Linked DNA regions of Homo sapiens: region 1 is linked to region 2. Evidence: promoter capture Hi-C in 16 types of primary human blood cells and fetal thymus (Javierre and others, 2016). All regions are on one chromosome and are shown on one strand. Each heading gives the region's core, a stretch centred on a gene start or on the middle of the fragment in contact. The rest is flanking DNA. Distances are from core to core; before and after follow the strand shown. Region 1 holds the start of POC5 (POC5 centriolar protein). Region 2 holds the start of S100Z (S100 calcium binding protein Z).

Evidence for each region. Contacts are between HindIII fragments. The CHiCAGO score rates a contact against its expected background, and 5 or more counts as called.
Region 1: a contact is called between the fragment with the promoter of POC5 here and the fragment with the promoter of S100Z in region 2, in 4 of 17 cell types (total CD4 T cells, neutrophils, activated CD4 T cells and 1 more). The highest score is 7.2, in total CD4 T cells.

What each region holds. Positions count from the first base shown.
Region 1 is chr5:75,713,977-75,719,776 of GRCh38, reverse strand. It overlaps POC5 (POC5 centriolar protein), which reads left to right and starts at 2,340. Exons shown (of 12, transcript NM_001099271.2): 1 at 2,340-2,471. It overlaps LOC441087 (a long non-coding RNA gene), which reads right to left and starts at 2,345. Exons shown (of 3, transcript NR_149046.1): 1 at 2,193-2,345. RefSeq lists an enhancer at 2,635-2,944. The HindIII fragment of the contact is 9,196 bases long and covers 1-5,800 here.
Region 2 is chr5:76,845,998-76,851,615 of GRCh38, reverse strand. S100Z (S100 calcium binding protein Z) reads right to left here and starts at 1,602. Exons shown (of 5, transcript NM_130772.4): 1 at 1,461-1,602. The HindIII fragment of the contact is 3,987 bases long and covers 1-2,182 here.

The sequences.
Region 1 (5,800 bases), core at 1,091-3,590, 1.1 Mb after region 2:
TTGGTTTGATATCGGTTTTTCCCATTAGACTCTTAGTTCCATGAGGGCAAACTGTGTTTTGCTCACCACTCTATCCCCAGCACCAACAAAAATTTGCTTTGCCTGTGACAGATGTTAAATATTTGTGTTGAATGAATAAATAATTATGAAGGGTTCAAGCTGGCAACCAAGTTATTATGGGTTTGTGGGGGCTTTAAATTCTCTCTCTCTCTCTTTCCCTCCCTCTCTAGGAACCTTGGGAAAAGATATCAGTTCTAAATTCATAACATCCAGACAAGGTTCTGTCTCTTTCTCTCTATAGTTTTACAGGAGAATGGGATTGTTTACTAAATGGTTTGCGATAAAAATCTCTCCTCCCCAAAAAGGAAGACAGAAAAGAGAAACTTGGAGCCTAGTGGCAGGAGGGCACCAGAAGAGTGATTCAGTATCAATTATAGTGTATGGGGTCACCAAAAGGCAATTCAATTAAAAAACAAATACTAGAACCAAGTATGAATTTGCAGCTATTAATAGGAACTTGTCCTCTATAATAAGCATGAAAAAAAAGGGGGAGAACAAACATAATTTATGCCAAAGAAACTTCTGGTGCTCTTCTTACTTGTTTGTGTAAGTAGAAGTCTGGTTCTGCCAACATAAAAGTAAGTGAGACCCAGGTTATGTCATTTCTATCTACAGAAAAAGAAACCTTATACTGGAGGTAACAGAAGGGAGCCTGAAAACTCACCCAGATCTCAGTATCTGTTCTTCAGATTGCAGAACCCCAGTCTGGGCTACTTAGGTACCTTTGCCATCTGGGTCCTCATACCTCTAGCCTATCTGTTGCCAATGTAAGTTGAAAGACTATATGTTTGTGTGTTCGGTGTTTTAGATATATTAATTCCTTTAATCTCCTACCACCTTAGTATGTGAGTAGTATTATCCAAGGTGACAGCGAGTAGATGGTAAAGCTAGATTATAATTATGATCTGATTCTAAGGCCAATACTTCACCAGAAGGCTCTATCTTGAAGTCTGACACGTTTGAGATTAGTTAAAACTAGACTACCAATTTTGGTTTTTTCTTTGTTTTTTGAGACAGAGTCTCACTATCACCCAGGCAGGAGTGCAGTGGCGATATCTTGGCTCACTGCAACCTCTGCCTCCTGGGTTTAAGGGATTCTCCTGCCTCAGCCTTCGGAGTAGCTGGGACTACAGGCGTAAGCCACCACACCCGGCTAATTTTTGTATTTTTAGTAGAGATGGGGTTTCACCATGTTGGCCAGCCTGGTCTCGAACTCCTGACCGCAGGTGATCCGCCTGCCTCGTCCTCCCAAAGTGTTGGGATTACAGGCGTGAGCCAACGCGCCCAGCCTAGACTAGCAATTTCTCAAAGGGTGGTCTGCAGACTCCTGCATCAGAATCACTGGCAGTGTGTGTTAAAAATTCAGATTTCCTGACGGTGTCCATGACCGAAGGAATCAACACCTTCGGCCGGGCGTGGTGGCTCACGCCTGTAATCCCAGCACTTTGGGAGGCCGAGGTGGGCGGAACACCTGAGGTCAGGAGTTCGAGACCAGCCTGGCCAACATGGTGAAACTCCATCTCTACTAAAAATACAAAAATTAGCCAGGCGTGGTGGCGGTCGTCTGTAATCCCAGCTACTCGGGAGGCTGAGGCAGGAGAATCCCTTGAACCTGGGAGGCGGAGGTTGCAGTGAGCCGAGATAGTGCCACTGCACACCAGCCTGGACGGCAGAGCAAGACTCCATCTCAAAAAAAAAAAAAGCACCTCCAAGTGATTCTGTTGCAGGGGATCTGTGGATGATGCAGATTTTTTTTTTGTTTTTAATTTTTTATAGAGAAAGGGTCTCCCTATGTTCCCCAGACTAGTCTCGAACTCCCGGGCTCAAGCGATCCTCCCACTTCGGCCTCCCAAAGTGCCGGGATTACTGGCATGAACCACCACACCTGGCCCAGAATTTCGGATTGTTCTTATGCAGACGAAAGCATTAGGACTCATATCTAGGTTACCGGAATTGTTGAAAGCCAACAGCACACGGCATTAGCCAACTTCAGCCCTGCTCAACAGCCTCTATCCAAATCAGCTCCCGGAGCCGCTTAGCAGCCTGCAGCCGCTGAACAGAACTGAGCACGCGCAATATTTAATCCCCACGGGCGCTGGGTGGGGCTCCCTAGGACCCCGCCCCCTACCAACCTGCGGAGCCAGGGGGCGGGGCTCTCCAAAGTAATTCCGGCTTCTCCCGGCAGCGGCCCAAATCCCCGCCCCCAGCTCTCGGACCAATCAAACGGCAGATTGCTGAAACAAAGGACCAATGCCCAGGGCGGTCCTTAATTCCTCCCTGCAGTTTGAAACTGTCAGGTTGCCGTCTAGGTAGCGGTTGTGCTTGCTGAGGCTGCACTTGCTGACACTGCAGCTGCGACGCGGCTAAGAGGCGCAGAGCGAGGAGTCGGGATTTGGTCGCGAGCGGCGACGGTGGGTAGCAGCGCTCCGGGCAGATCCTGCGTCCCTGCATCCCTGGCGAAAGTAGTGGAGGGAGATTTAAAGTTCCTTGGCGCGTGTTTCCTCCCCCTGGGCTCTTCCCCAGACCGCGAGTGATTCAGCTGTTGTGCCGGAAGGTCCCAAAGTTTCCCCTCCGAGGCGTGCAGGAAGAGGAAGTGAGCAGGAGTGAGGGATGCTGAGCGATTACTGTCATCAGAGGTTCCGGTCACTTAAAACGTTGAGAAAAAATAACCATGTATAAAGCTCTGTTGTGCTTAAGTAAGATTTTTCTTAAAACAGGCTGGGTCGGAAGGTGATGGAAGAAAACTTATGGCCTTTTGCTTACTGCAATGGCTTTTCTCCTCTGCTTCTAGTCCCTGCTTTGGGGAGGGGCTGGCGCGCCCCTTTCCTTGAGTGCAGCTAGGCCTGGTGAAAGGCACAGGCGACATCACCCTGCTGCTAGTTTGCATGTTAATTCGCTCTTCCTTTGCCTCTTGGGGGTTCCATTTGAATTCCCAGACCCCTGTTTTGCTGTCAGCCAGATAATTACCAAGATGTTATTTTATGTTTCTGGCAACAGAGAAGCACACAAAAGTTTTGATCTTGTTTTCTGATACCTTGGATTAGAGACTACTGAAAATGTAGTGAACTAATGTGCGTCCGCCACCCATTAAAGCAGTTTTCATTTTTCTCCTTTGTTTCTGAACCTAGAAACAGTAAGGAAAATGCTACTGTTCTAGAGTTTCAAATAACTCATACCTTGTTGACATAAAGCAGGGCAGATGGAAGATAGCATATTTTCCAAGAGTGCGGTGGGTTTTTTTGTGTCTGCAGTGTGTCCATATTAAGAAACAATTTTTGAGATCTGACCATACTTACTAGCTCATTTTTAAATAATCAGCACCCCCCCCCCCCCACCCCTGTTACCTGCCTGGTCTCAAATCCTGAAGGAAGAAGTGAATAAAAATATAAATGGACCAAGTTATCACAGTGGTAGATTTGAAGTCAGTGAAGCAGCCATTCCTTGCTGCAGATACATGCACTTATTTTATCCTCCCTAATTGGCTTAACTAAAGACAGTCATGCTGAGATTTAGTTTACTTAACATGTGTATGCACAGTGATACTCACTGGAAAAAGTTGAACTTTCCTTTCCACAATTTAGTTCCAGCCTGTGTTTCCATTCTATTTTTGCACTTTTCCCTGTATCTTCCTTTTCTATTTCAATTTCCTCATCTCTCATTTATTTTTCAGCCCACTGTGACTAAGACCTGTAATTGTTTTACTTTCCAGTGAAATTGTTCAAGCAAACGTCTCAGCAACCTCCTAATCTCCAAATTCTATCCAATCCTCATGGTTCTTTGGCATCTAATTCTATTTTCTTCTCAAAGTTGTGATATTGCTTCCATAGTTCTAATGTTCTGACTTCCTTTGCTGACTCCTCTTCTTTGCTGACTGTTCTTCTCTTGCCCTTTAGATGTTAGTGGTTCTGGCTTTAACCCTCTTCTCATTCACAGTCGTAGTCCTTAACTCTATTAGGGCTATGGTCCCCTCTGAACGCATATTTAAAGCGAAAGATCTTCTTTCTAGAAAAATACACATTCACATTTATGATAAAAATATTGCATACGAGTCGGGTATAGGGACCTGATATGGTTAGGTCTTGTGTCCCCACTCAAATCCCATCTTCAATTGTAATCTCCACATGTAGGGGAAGGGAAGTGATTGGATTATAAGGGCGATTTCCCCCGTGCTGTTCTCATGATAGTGAATTCTCACGAGATCTGATGGTTTTATAAATGGTAGTTTTTCCTGCACTCTCTCACATACTGTCTCACCTGCCGCCATCTAAGATGTGCCTGCTTCCCCTTCTACCATGATTTTAAGTTTCCTGAGGCCTCCCCAGACATGCGGAACTGTGAGTCAATAAAAATTCTTTTATTTATAAATTACCCAGTTTTGGGCAGTTCTTTTTTTTTTTTTTTTTTTTTGAGACGGAGTCTCACTCTGTCGCCCAGGCTGGAGTGCAGCGGCGCGATCTTGGCTCACTATGAGCTCCGCCTCCCGGGTTCACGCCATTCTCCTGCCTCAGCCTCCCAAGTAGCTGGGACTACAGGCGCCCACCACCACGCCAGGCTAATTTTTTGTATTTAGTGGAGACGGGGTTTCACCGTGTTAGCTAGTATGGTCTTGATCTCCTGACCTCGTAATCCTCCCACCTCAGCCTCCCAAAGTGCTGGGATTGCAGGCATGAGCCACCGTGCCCGGCCTGGGCAGTTCTTTATAGCAGTTTGAAAAACGTACTAATACAGGACCTCAGGATAAGAACTTTTTCTCACATTCCTTTTTTATAGGTGGTCTCATCCATTCCCTTTTTTCAGCAGTTCCCATTATGCCAGTGATTCCTCAAACTGGATCTCCAACTTATACCTCCAGTGCGGCGCTCCCACAATGCTTAACTCCAGGAAACACCATTCACAGTGTAGCCATTGTGAATGGCAGTTCTTGGAGTAGCGCACTACGTAGCCAGTGTGACCACAGACTGCATACTTGCAGCTTTACCCTAGTGCCTCAGAGGCATCCTCACACCCAGCTCATCTGATATGGCACTCATTGTCCTTCCTCCCAACCTGCTCATCTTCCTACCTTCCTTGCCTTGGTGAGTGGCACTATCCATCTAGTTACCCAAACCGGAGATCTGGAAGCCACCAACAGTTCTTTTTAACCCCTTGATCTATTATTGATCATTTTCTCTTTCCATCACCATAACACAACTGTCTTGTAGTCATACCCTCCATCCCCTTCCCATTGCTACTTCCTAGACTTAGGTCATCATTTATCTTCTTAATTACTATCAAAGAGAACATTTATCTCTTAGACTACTGCAGTCAGCTCTCAATTGATCTCTCTCTCTTTTTTTTTTGAGACGGAGTCTCTGTCACCCAGGCTGGAGTGCAGTGGTGCGATCTTGGCTCACTGCAGCCTCCACCCCCAGGGTTCTAGCTATTCTCCTGCCTCAGCCTCCCAAGTAGCTGGGATTACAGGCACCTGCCACCAGGCTCGGCTAATTGTTTTGTATTTTTAATAGAGACAGGGTTTCGCCATGTTGGCCAGGCTGGTCTCAAACTCCTGACCTCAGGTGATCCACCTACCTCAGCCTCCCAAAGTGCTAGGATTACAGGCATGATTCACTGCACCCAGCCTGATCTCTCTTAATATCCAAATTCATCCTCAACGCTGCTGGAATGATCTTTCTGATCATGTAACTTTTAAAAAATATTTCAATAACTTGTCTAGAATAAACACCCAGATTTTTAATATGAC
Region 2 (5,618 bases), core at 353-2,852:
GGATCCCCTTTTTTTGCTGCTCCAGTCAACAGCAATACCCTCATTCACCCAACTGCATGGCCAGAAACCTGAGTATGATGCTATTCCTGGCCCCTCTCTCTCTCTCATGCAATCAGTTGCCAGGTTGTATCTCCTCACTCTCTGTTCCTTCCTCCTCAACCCTAGCGCCATAGTTCAGGCCCTTGTCACTTCTGGCCTGAATTACTGCATGAGATCCCAACTCACCTCCTGCACCTACTTTGCTCTTCTTCAAAATTAGCCTCCCCTGCCTGCTGGGAGGCACACCTGAGCTCCTCACTTAACCTCCTGGACAGGCCCTGCCATCCCCTGGCTAAATCTAAACTCCCCGCAGTGTGCCCACCCATCCCCTCTGCACCATCTGTGCCGCACACGTGGCACTGCCACTGTGCTGCCCATTCCTCTGCTCAGGTGCCAGTCCTCCAGGGAAGCCTCCGATGCCCCTCAGCTCCTGGGAGCACTCCGCCTCTGGGTGCCCCTGTATCACCTCATGCTTTCCTCTAGACCTGCACCGGCACTGGGTTGAAGGAAAATAATAGTAGCCAACGTTAATTAGCACATACTCTGGGCCAAGCACCCTTCTAGGCAGTTTAAATGTATTCCTTTATGTCATCCTCAAAAATCCCATGAGGAGGCTGGGGAGCGGTGGCTCATGCCTGTAATCGCAGCACTTTGGGAAGCCAAGTGGGAGGTGGAGGTTGCAGTGAGCTGAGATCACACCACTGCACTCCAGCCTGGGTGACAGAGTGAAACTCCATCTCAGAAAAAAACAAAAAACAAAAAAAACTTTATTTCTCTGTCTAACCCAAATTTTGTGTCCTCTCACCAACTTCTCCCCAGCCCCTCCATCCCTCTTCCCTCTCTTCTTCTGTAGGCTGAGAGCAGCCATTCCAGGGCTGATTGTCCAGGCATGCCCAGCACTGGCCAGTGTGAAGAGGAGGAGCATAGACCACTGCTGTGACTTCCTGGGAGTGGGCTTACACTGGCATCTGTGCAGGCTTCAGGAAAAAGAAGCGAAATCACGGCGTGGATCTAAGGGGCCAAGCCTCACCTTGAAGGTTCTTCTGGGTCTTTGGCCTGGACAAGAACATGAAACTTGAATTTCTCAAGGTGAGGTGAAGGCCAAGCAGGAAGCCAGGATGGTCACCAGGAAAGGAGCCAGAATGAACTAAGTGTTCTTTAGGGCAAGGAACTTACCAGAACCTCTACGCTCCGAGCTATGATCAGGCTGCTCTCTCCCTCTCTCTCTCTCTCTCTCTCTCCCCCACCCCCCCGACCCCTTTGTGGCCAAGGTAAGGCCACATTTTAGAGTGGAAGCCCCAAGGCAACCCCCCACCTCACAACCTCCACTCTTGTTGCCCTCTCTAATCCAACGCCTGCCAGGCTCACACTTCAACCACTAGACTGAAAAGCAAGAATCTTCCACAAAAATAATCTTTTACCTTAGACCTGCTTCCTGTGCAGATGAGATAAGGAGAATGCTCTTGTCTGAATTTCTGGGCGTGGAGATTAGCAAGCCGTTTTCCTCCCAGCAGCTAGAGCGAGCAAGAGGCCCTGCTGTGAGTAGTGCTGTTCTGAGTCTGCGTGGTCCAGACTCACCACACTGCAGGCACGTTTCTTCATCAGGTGGGAAAGCAGGAAGAGGTTTAATTTAGGACCTAAAGCTGGTATATTGCTGAGTAAAAGAAATGGGAAGGCACCAAGTCTCTAACGAAATTGCGCTGGGTGCAGTGGCTCATGCCTCTAATCCCAGCACTTTGAGAGGCTGAGGTGGGTGGATCACTTGCGGTCAGGAGTTTGAGACCAGCCTGGTCAACGTGGCGAAACCCCATCTCTACTAAAAATATAAAAATTAGCCAGGCATGGTGGCGGGCGCCTGTAATTCCAGCTACTCGTGAGGCTGAAGCAGGAGAACGCTTGAACCTGAGAGGCAGAGGTTGTAGTGAGCTGAGCTCGCCGCTGCCCTCCAGACTAGGTGACAGAGCCAGATTCCGTCTCAAAAAAACAAAAAAAAAAGAAAAAGAAACTGCTTGTGATCCAACACTCCCCCACTGGTGCCTCCTCATGGTGAAGAGCAATTACTCTGGCACCAGAGTCTTGGGGTTCAAATCCTTACTTCACCAGTATGTGACTGGAAAAGCTACCTAACCTGCCTGCTGAAGCTTCATGGCTAATAATTCCTCACAGCATTTCTTTTTTTCTTTTTTTTTTTTGAGACAGAGTCTTGCTCTGTCACCCAGGCTGGAGTGCAGTGGCATCATCTCAGCTCACTGCAACCTCCACCTCCCTGGTTCAAGCTTCTGCCTCAGCCTCCCAAGTAGCTGAGATTACAAGCGCCCACCACTAAGCCTGGCTAATTTTTGTATTTTCAGTAGAGATGGGGTTTCACCATGTTGGTGAGGCTGGTCTTGAATTCCTGACCTCAAGTGATCCGCCCACCTTGGCCTCCCAATGTGCTGGGATTATAGGCGTGAGACACTGCGCCTGGCCCAGGAGGAATAAGTTTAAGAGCTCCCATTGTACAGCATGCTATCTATAGTTAATAACAATATATCGTGTATCGAAAATTGCTAAGACAGTAGATGTTAAGTGTCTTTATCACCCCCAAAAAATGACAAGTATATGGGGCAATTAAGTCAAATAGCTTGACTTAATAATTCCACAATGTATACATAAATTAAAACATCAAGCTGTATTTGTATACCATAATATATACAATTTTTACTTGTCAATTAAATAAATAAATACACAGAAAAGGGCAGAGACAGGTCAAGAAGCACAGCACTCAGTACAGAAATACAGATAACAATATATTGAAAGAAAGAATTCAAAGATAAATTTTTTTTTTTTTTTTTTGGAGACAGAGTCTTGCTCCATTGCCTAGGGTAGAGTACAGAGACACAATCACAGCTCTCTGCAACCTCAACCTCCCAGGCTCAAGTGATCCTCCCACTTCAGCCTCCCAAATAGCTAGGACTGCAGGGTATGCCACCACAACCTGGCTAATACTTGTATTTTTTTGTAGAGATGGGGTTTCACCATGTTGCTTGCCCAGTCTAGTCTTGAACTCCTGGGCTCAAGTGATCCTCCCAGCCTGGCTTCCCAGAGTGCTGGGATTACAGGCACCAGCCACCGCACCCGGCCAAAGATATGTTCTGAAGATTGAAACGTCTCTCTTTCCAAAATAACTACTCTTGGCCAGGTATGGTGGTGTGCGCCTGTAATCCCAGCTACTCGGGAGGCTGAGGCAGGAGAATTGTTTGAATCCGGGAGGCAGAGGTTGCAGTGAGCCAAGATTGTTCCACTGCACTCCAGCCTGGGCAAGAGTGAGACTCCGTCTCAAAAAACAAACAAAACCCAAAAACCTCTTGACTGGGTGCTGTGCCTCAAGCCTGTAATCCCAGCACTTTGGGAGGCAGAGGTGGGAGGATCACTTGAGCCCAAGAGTTCAACACAGCCTGGGCAACATAGGGAGACACCATCTCTACAAATTTTTTTTTAAAAATTAGCTGGGCATGGTGGTGCACACCTGTGGTTCCAGCTACTCAGGAGGCTGGGGTTGAGAGTATCACTTCAGCCCAGGAGTTTGAGGCTGCAGTGAGCTGTGATTGCAACCACTACTCTCCAGCCTAGGTGACAGAGCCAGACCCTGTCTCTATAAAAGCATTAATTAATTAATTAATTAATTACTAGTCTTTCCCACCTGAAAGTGAAAACTAAGAAGGTCCAAACTGTAGGATTATAGAATGACGGATGTCTGGGGAGATCAGAACAAATCTGCGGAAGAAAACACATGTAATCTGTCTGCATTGCCAGTTTTGGGTGGTGATTCCTGTCCAAGTGTAGCTCCCAAGCACAAGACTGTGGTCTAGGGTCCTGTTCTTCCCTATCTTTAGGAGAACATTAAGATCACCATGAGGCAGGCACCACATAAGAGGGCACAGTGATAAGAATTTTAGCATTCCTCGTTGTTCCTGCTAAGTGCTTGTGAACAGTTGTATAACCAGAGTTCTCGATCGGCAGAGCCTTTTCATTTCCTCTAATATGCTTTCACACTTTCCAGTTCTGGATGCAATCAGCAAAATCCAGACTATGGGGAAAATCTACAAACAACCTGGTTTCTTCAACAAGTAAGTAGCAAGTGGTGAGGGTGGAGATAAATTAAGAGATTTAAAAGTCATCAACCAATTGCAATGTCTGAGCTTTATTTAGATTCTGATTTTTTAAAAAAAGAAACCACTTATGATAATTGAGATGAGTAGAAATTTGAACACTGACAGGATATCTGATATTAAGAAATTTTTTGAGGTATGATTTTTAAATTTCTTGTCTTAGACACTGAAACATTTACGAGTGAAATAATATGATTCCTGAGATTTGCTTCAGAATAAACGGGATGGGGAGGAGGATGGGGCAGAATTGACCAAAGGTTGATGGATATTGGGCCTGAGTGATGGAGACATAGAGTTTCCCTATACAATCCTAATTCTGTATGGGTATAAAATCCTCCATAATAAAGTTTTTAGGGCTGGGCGCAGTGGCTCACACCTGTAATCCCAGCACTTTGGGAGGCCGAGGTGGGCGGATCACTTGAGGTCAGGAATTCTAGAGCAGCCTGGCCAACATGGTGAAACCCAGTCTTTACCAAAAATACAAAAATTAGCCAGGCGTGGTGGTGGGCGCCTGTAATCCCAGCTACTTGGGAGGATAAGGCAGGAGAATCGCTTGAACCCAGGAGGCCGAGGTTGCAGTGAGCCAAGATGGCACCACTGCACTCCAGCCTGGGAGACAGAGCAAGATTCTCTCTCAGAAAAATACATAAATAAATAAAATAAAATAAACAAACAAACATAAAGTTTTTAGGCTGGGCACCGTGGCCTATGCCTCTAATGCCAGCACTTTGGGAGAGCGAGGTAGGTGGATCACTTGAGGTCAGGAGTTCAAGACCAGCCTGGCCAACATGGTGAAACCCCGTCTCTACTAAAAATACAAAAATTAGCCAGGTGTGGTAGCGGAAACCTGTAATCCCAGCTACTAGGGAAGCTGAGGCAGGAGAATTACTTGAACTCAGGAGGCAGAGGCTGCAGTGAACCAAGATCATACCACTGCACTCCAGCCTGGGCAACAGAGCGAGATTCTGTCTCAAAAAAAAAAACACAGTTTTTAAAAAGATTAAAAAAAAAGAATTTCAGTTTTAATGGACAGAAATGGTCACTAGAATAAACACCATCATTTCCCTCCCTGTGCTGCAATTTTTTAAGCCATAAATTCTGATAAATCTGTTATATTTTTAACAAAGTCTCCCATTTACACAAATCTCTGGTTAAAGAAAAAAGTCTGACTTCCACTGGTAAGAACTAGACACAGTTCCCCTGCAAGAGCCCAGGTGGCCTCTGAAAGAGTTCACAACATAAGGCTTGGCTAAAACTGCTTTCTCGGGATTAGGTAATTGAGTCTACCCGATGGTACATAGAAGCTATAATTAAACGCTTTCCATGGGTTTGCCATTCACCCCAGGCTACATGGTGGAGCTGAGGTGAGGAACTCAGACCTGAGCCAGATCCAGCAGTGTTGAGAGTTAATCCCTCATATGCAGGTGA